Regions from separate parts of the Homo sapiens genome. Here region 2 is linked to region 1. Evidence: promoter capture Hi-C in human tissues and cell types (Jung and others, 2019). All regions are on one chromosome and are shown on one strand. Each heading gives the region's core, a stretch centred on a gene start or on the middle of the fragment in contact. The rest is flanking DNA. Distances are from core to core; before and after follow the strand shown.

Region 1 (3,337 bases), core at 600-3,099:
ATGGCCCCGAGTACAGTGCTGAAGTGCCATCTAGTGTTTCTAAGCACACGAAGGCTACGATGAGCCTTATGGAAAAAATATGTGTGTTAGACAAGCTTCATTCAGTCATGAGTTATAGTGGTGTTGGCTATGAGTCCAATATTAATGAGTCAACAATATATATTAAACAAGGTGTCTTCAGAAACACACATAAAACAGACTTCTGTATTGATCAGTTGATAACCACATTGTAAACAGAAGCTTGCAGGAACCTAACCTCATATGTCCTCTAGGAAGAATGCTTCAATATTCACTAACTTGGTGCTCATGGTGACTCATAGACTATAACTACCTTGAATAATGAGAATCAAATGTACCAATCTGACCATGTCTCTTCCTTTTTCCTGCCTCAGCACAATACAAAATGTAAAAATAGAAAAAAGAAAAGAATTCCCTCATGCCTCCCTCTGCACCCAAGATAAATTCAAACTCCTTAGCATGACATTCCAGGTCCTTCATGGTCTGGAAGGTCTTTGCTGACCTTCCAGGCTCCTTGCCATGTGGTGTCCCCACCACTACCCAGCCCACTCTCCAATGCTCTTCCATTATTTTTCACAAAGGTCCTCTGCACGCTATGTGCCCACTGCCTCAAAGGCCCCTCCTCAGCATCTCTTCTTGGTAAACTCCTATACATCCTTCAAGACCCAGCTTAAATGTTACCTTCTCCGGCTCTCCCTCTGGCAGAACTTAAAACTCCCTTCTCTCTCTGTGTCTTTTCTAGGACTTCTCACAATGTTGTAACTGATCTCTTTATATGCCTCCTCTCTCCTGTACTTGGCAACAGCTTTTTGGAAAGAGCATGGAGTATAGAAATGTGTGACTCTCTGCAGGGTGTGTGCATTTCACACATCATTCATTCAATAAATATAAATTGAAGCCTAACTGGACAAGACACCAGGCACCATACTAGGCACAAGGGATAGAGCAGTGAATAAAATAAAGCCACTGCTGCATGTGTGTGCAACACTGTGCCCATAATTGTGGCCTGTGTGTAAGAGTATGCTCATGTGAAGCTACATTGTGTTTGCTTGTGGACATGAGGTGTTTGTGGCTCCTGGATGCTTTGTCTGTTGAATCCTGACCCCAAGTGACCTGCTGATACAGGGCACCTTGGAAGTCAATTAGGCCAAAAGACCGTGTCTGTGCACTAATGAGAAGCTTTCCCCAGGTGCCCCTGCCCACCTTCTCCACCTCTCCTGTGGTTCCTGCCTGGCTTGGGTTTGGCCTTTTTAACCCAAAGACAACATGCATCCAAATGAGATTTTCTCTAGTGCATACGTCTCTCTCTCCCTCCCTTCTCCTCTGCCTTCCCTGTATCTCAGAAAGAAAAGGCCTAGGAATAAGGAAAAGGAGGAGGAAGAAACATTTTTTTGAGGACATACCATGCGGCAGGCCTGTGCTGGGCAGTATACACGCATTATAGGCAATTGTAGACAGGGCTTCCCTTGTGTCAGGCACTGTTCTAAGCACTTCACCCCTAAGGCTGGGTTAATCCACGTATCCACCCTATGAGGTAGGTGTTGTTCTTTTCCCACTTTCACAGAGAAGGCAAGAAATCACACAGTGAGAAAGTGGCAGAGCTGGGATTCAGGCCTCAGCTTCTCCCACACAAGCCCACAGATGGGAGGATGAACAAGGAGTCAGAGTGGACCTGTGGCTCTCCCCTGAGAGGATACCAGGATTCGAGGCTCAGCGCCCTGGGAGGAGTGAACCCCTCAGTTTCCTGAGCCTCATCAGAAGCAGTCTGGGGAGGCTGGGGCCCAGCCAATGGCAGTGCAGGTCCCAGCTCCTCCTCCTCCCAGGCTGGGCCAGCACACCCGGCAGGCTCTGTCCTGGAAACAGGCTTCAACGGGCTTCCCCGAAAACCTTCCCCGCTTCTGGATATGAAATTCAAGCTGCTTGCTGAGTCCTATTGCCGGCTGCTGGGAGCCAGGAGAGCCCTGAGGAGTAGTCACTCAGGTAAGGGCATCTGTGTCCGCATGTGCCCTGCCCCTTGGCATACGTGGCAGGAGGACACTTCTCTGCTGGGGAGTGGTGGGATGTGGCCTGGACACATCTGCCACCCTGGGTCCTGATGGTGGAGGAATAAGGGGCTCTGGGTTCTTTCAGGTCTCCCCAGCCGGGCAAAGGTAGGAGCAGGGGCCAGGCCGGAAGCTCAGCAGGCAGGGTAGCTCTGCCTGGGCCTGCAAAGCCCTGCCCCACTCCTCCCCAAGTAGGGATGGGCTGGGTGAGAGCCCCTGGGGCTAAGGGCGGGGCCTTCCTGGGTGTTCCCTGAGAAGCTGCAGGAGTCCTACCTTAGACAGGACTGAGCATGCAAGATGGTGATTCAAAACAGAGCTCCCCCCAACCCCGGCCCCCACCTCCACCCATCCCCCGTCCAAGTGGCGCAGGTGGTGTGGAGACAGGGTGGTGGGCAAAGGTTCCCCCAGCCACCCTCATCCAGGATCCACACACAAGGGGAAGGACAGAATCCGTCTGCACACAAACAGGCAGGCAGCTCATTGAAACTTGAGGAAAGGGTCTGAGGCCTAAGGCTGGGCAGTTCCCGGAGGGTGGGCTCTAGAGCCAGCCTGCCTGGGTTCAAATCCTAGCTCTGCCACTTATTAGCTGTGTGACGTTGAGCAAGTTAATTAATCCCTCTGTGTTCCTCTTTCCTCATCTGTAAATTGGGAATAAAAAATATGCCCTTTCCTAAGGTTGCTGTGAAGGAATAATGTACTGATTCATACAAAGAACTTAGAGCGGTGCCTGGCACGGCATGAATGCTTCATGGATATTGGCTGTTATCACTACTCTGCTTTGCAGTTGATCATGCAGAGGCTCCAGAGAGCCTGGTGAGCTTCAGCCTGGACCAGCATGGGAAGGCCATCATGAGCCCTTTAGTGGCTAGGCAGACAGGTTCCTTGGGGTCCCAGGGTGCACAGTTGGTTGAAACCACAGTGCATGGGTCTTAATGGACACACCCCCATCTCCAGGAATCAGGCAGAGGACTCGCGGGTGAGGAAGTGGGGACCCCTTACTCTGCCTAGCAGTCACAGTCCTTACGCGGAGGTGAATCTGATTCTGTGAGTTCATCAGGCCAAATTCACCAGCAGAACTGACAGGAGCAGCATTTCCCACTTGATGTCTTGACAAGGCTGTTCCACAAGATGATAAATGTTATGTCAGGAGGAAAAGGGCTTCTGTGGGCAAATGAGTTTGGGCAATGCCACATATTTCATACCTCTTTTGGTGAATTTATTAGTGAGTTTATTAGCACGGTTGAGCAAAAGAACCCTATTTAACTTTACTAAACCCA
Region 2 (3,337 bases), core at 334-2,833, 640 kb before region 1:
TCTCTCTCGCAGTTTGAATGAACTGAGGGAAAAATATATCTGAGTGGGTGGACAGATAATCTAAAAATTGTGTCAGGGAGTAGTAGAGAAATGTACTTCCTCTTACAGTCTCTATAAAAGGAAACCCTAACAAGCTTATTGTTGCCCCTTGCCCATACACATGCAAACCAAGGTGAAAAACATGATCAGGCTGGGCATGTGGAGACACTGGGTTCAGAACCCAGCCCAGTGACCTCAGACTTCTGTTTAGAAGACATTGCCATGGCCATTTCCCCAGATGCCCAGTTCTGCCCTTAATGGCCTTTGCTCACCCTGGGCTTCCCCAGTCTTGTCAGCTGCAGCCCCAGCCTATATAACTACCTGCTGTCCAACCGCCTCCACACTGCAGCAGACAGCTCTATCTATAGGCACTCCAGCCATGAGGTAACTCAAAGGGTTTCCCAGTGGACTGCTCTGCAGAGTTATGTGAATGAATGTCCTGGAGACCCTTCAAAGCCTCCAGAAATACTTCCAATACTAGCCTTCTTCTCCTGTGGGCATACTATGCTTTGTCACCATGCCAGAGACTGGGGCATGAATTTCTGGGTCATATGGGCAGCCTTGAGAAAAATCAAAAGTATATGTTGAATGAATGAATGAATGTGCCTTCCAATAAGATAATCTATAAAGAGTAAAATCTATATAGGCCTCTAGAATCTAGTTAGTCCAATGCTAGAGATTTCTGGCAAGAAATTCACAGGCTTGGGAGTAGCATGGGGATATAGAAAGAAAAGGATTCAAGCCAATTCAATGGATTTTTACTAGGGCCTCCTAAAAGACAGTCTGACCCTTCCCTGACAATGCTCATGGCTGAGGGGCAGCTGGTGTGTGGGTGTGTAATATAGGAAAGCAAGGAATTTATAGAAAGGAGAAAAAGAGATCTACGGCCATACCACCCTGAACGTGCCTGATCTTGTCTGATCTCGGAAGCTAAGCAGGTTCAGGCCTTGTTAGTACTTGGACGGGAGAAAGGAGAAAAAGAAGGACATGGATGGGAAGGTAGGACCCAGCTTCAACCCCACCATTGTGAGCTAAGCTCTACTCCTGGCTGAGTCACTCATGGCTCAGACTTCTTAACTTGGGTTTGGAAATGGTTGTGTCTCTGAGCTTCCTCATACCCTCCTTGTGACACTTCCCAACTGAATTCTTAGGATCAAGAGGTATTTATCTCCCCATGCCCTCCAAGAGAAAGTGTGGGTCTTAAAACGCATGAGTTGAGAGAGCCAGAGGTGTCACACATGGGTGGCAGAGCAGCGACCCAGGACCTGTGACTCCTGACAGTTGTCACAGATGCAACATCCTCTCAAAACATGTCTAACCTTGAAATGGCTAGGAGCACATGTTCATCCATAGCATGAATAATATGCAAGACGCACATGGGTGAACAAAGCAAGACCATCACATGCCCCATGGTCACTTGTTAGCTGGGAGAGACTTTATTATGGCCCAACAAGACCTTTATAATTGTAAATCCCTGGCGCCCCCTCATGGCCCTTACAGTCCTGTGGCTTCTGCTGAGGGGCAGTGGGGGAAAGGTGCCTGGAGGAGGTGCCAGGGGCTTGGGAGTGACATCAGCTAGATGGCAGAATAGGAAGCCCCAGACATTCTGCCCCACAGAAACACTGACTTAACAACAATACACAGTCCAAAAAAGCCTTTATGAGAACTCTAGAAACCAGTTAAGAAGTTACAGTACCCCAGGCAAGCTCAAAGTGAAAAGCCACCATATTGAAATGCATAAGAAAAATTGTTTCATGTCAACCATAAAAACCCTTCTCCCAACTGTCACAGTTCAGTGAGACTGAAGGAAAAAGTTCAACTTGCAGCTTCCCCCTTGGAAAGGAAAGAGAAGAGCATAGCATACATTCAGTGTTCCCACTTTTCAGTGGGCTGCAGAGGGACCGGTTTCTGTCTCACCTGACAGAAACCAGAGTGCTGATGGGGAACCAGCATACTTTCAATGCCTGGGGGCCATGGAGAACAAAAGACAGTTCACTGGCTTTTTGCAACACCAGAGAACCTGAGTACCATAATCAGACACCAGAGGGAGCAAGAAATTACAAACCCTTGAAGGAAAAACAAACAAGACCCAGTAAACCTCTTTAATTAAGAAAGTACACATGCAAGCTCAGAGAATATATATCCCAAGGAAAGCCCCCAGAACCTCTAGCTGCTGAAGACTTTCCCTTGTGTAAAACTACTCTGTAAAGACTGGGAGAACTCCTTTGTTGTTGTTGTTGTTGTTGTTGTTTTTCAAATGCAGAAATCACTAAAAAAATAACAAAGCACACTTAAAAAAAAAAAACGAAAAACAAGGCAACATGGCTCAACTAAAGGAAGAAAATAGGCTGAGCACAGTGGTTCATACCTGTCATCCCAGTGCTTTGGGAGGCCGAAGCAGAAGGATAATTTGAGGCCAGGTGTTCCAGACCAACCTGGGCAAGATAGCAAGACCCCCATCTCTAAAAACAATTTTTTTTAATTAGCTGGGCATAGTGGTACACCTATAGTCCTAGCTACTCAGGAGGCTGAAGCAGGAGGATCACTTAGGCCCAGAAGTTGAGGTTACAATGAGCTATTATCACACCACTCCATTCCAGCCTGGGAAACAGGATGAGACCCTGTCTCAAAAAAAAAGGAAGGGTGGTGTACATAATAAATCTTCAGAAACCAATTCTAAAGAAATGGAGATCTATTAATTATTTGACAAAGAATTCAAAATCATTGTCTTTAAGAAGCTCAATGTGCTACAAGAGGACACAAATAGACAAACTAAATAAAATCAGGAAAATGATGCATGAACAAAATGACAATATCAACAAAAAGTTAGAAACTATAATACAAGATCAAACAGAAATTCTAGAGCTGAAGACTATAATAACTGAATTTAAAATTTTACTGGAGGGGTTCAATAACAGACTTAAGCAGAAAAAAGAATCAGTGAACTCAAAAACAGGTCATTTGAAATTATTAAGTCAGAGGAACAAATAGAAAAAAGAATGAACAAAAGTGAATAAAGCCTAAGGAACTTAGAGGACCCCATAAAATAGACCAATATGTGTGTTATGAAAGTCTTAGAAGGAGAAAAGAGAAAAAAAGGAACAGAAAGCTTATTTGAAAAAAATAACGGCTGAAAACTTCCTAAATCTAAAGAAGAAAATCAAAATCCAAAGTAAAGAAGCTTAAAAGACTCCAACTACAATGACCCCAAAGAAGTCAATATTGAGACAAGAAAAAGTTAAAGACAAGGAAGGAAAGAATCTTGAAAGCAGCAAGGAAACATGACTCATCACCTACA

Evidence for each region. Contacts are between HindIII fragments. The study calls those that stand out against the background at their distance.
Region 2: a contact is called between a fragment that was not itself captured here and the fragment with the promoter of GJB5 in region 1, in 1 of the 25 tissues and cell types used here (bladder).

What each region holds. Positions count from the first base shown.
Region 1 is chr1:34,753,198-34,756,534 of GRCh38, forward strand. It overlaps GJB5 (gap junction protein beta 5), which reads left to right and starts at 1,850. Exons shown (of 2, transcript NM_005268.4): 1 at 1,850-1,998. The HindIII fragment of the contact is 2,696 bases long and covers 719-3,337 here.
Region 2 is chr1:34,112,031-34,115,367 of GRCh38, forward strand. The region is part of intron 1 of CSMD2 (CUB and Sushi multiple domains 2); the gene reads right to left. It also overlaps the pseudogene RNA5SP42. Among named protein-coding and RNA genes, the nearest start is that of CSMD2, 52 kb to the right of the region's middle. The HindIII fragment of the contact is 3,201 bases long and covers 1-3,184 here.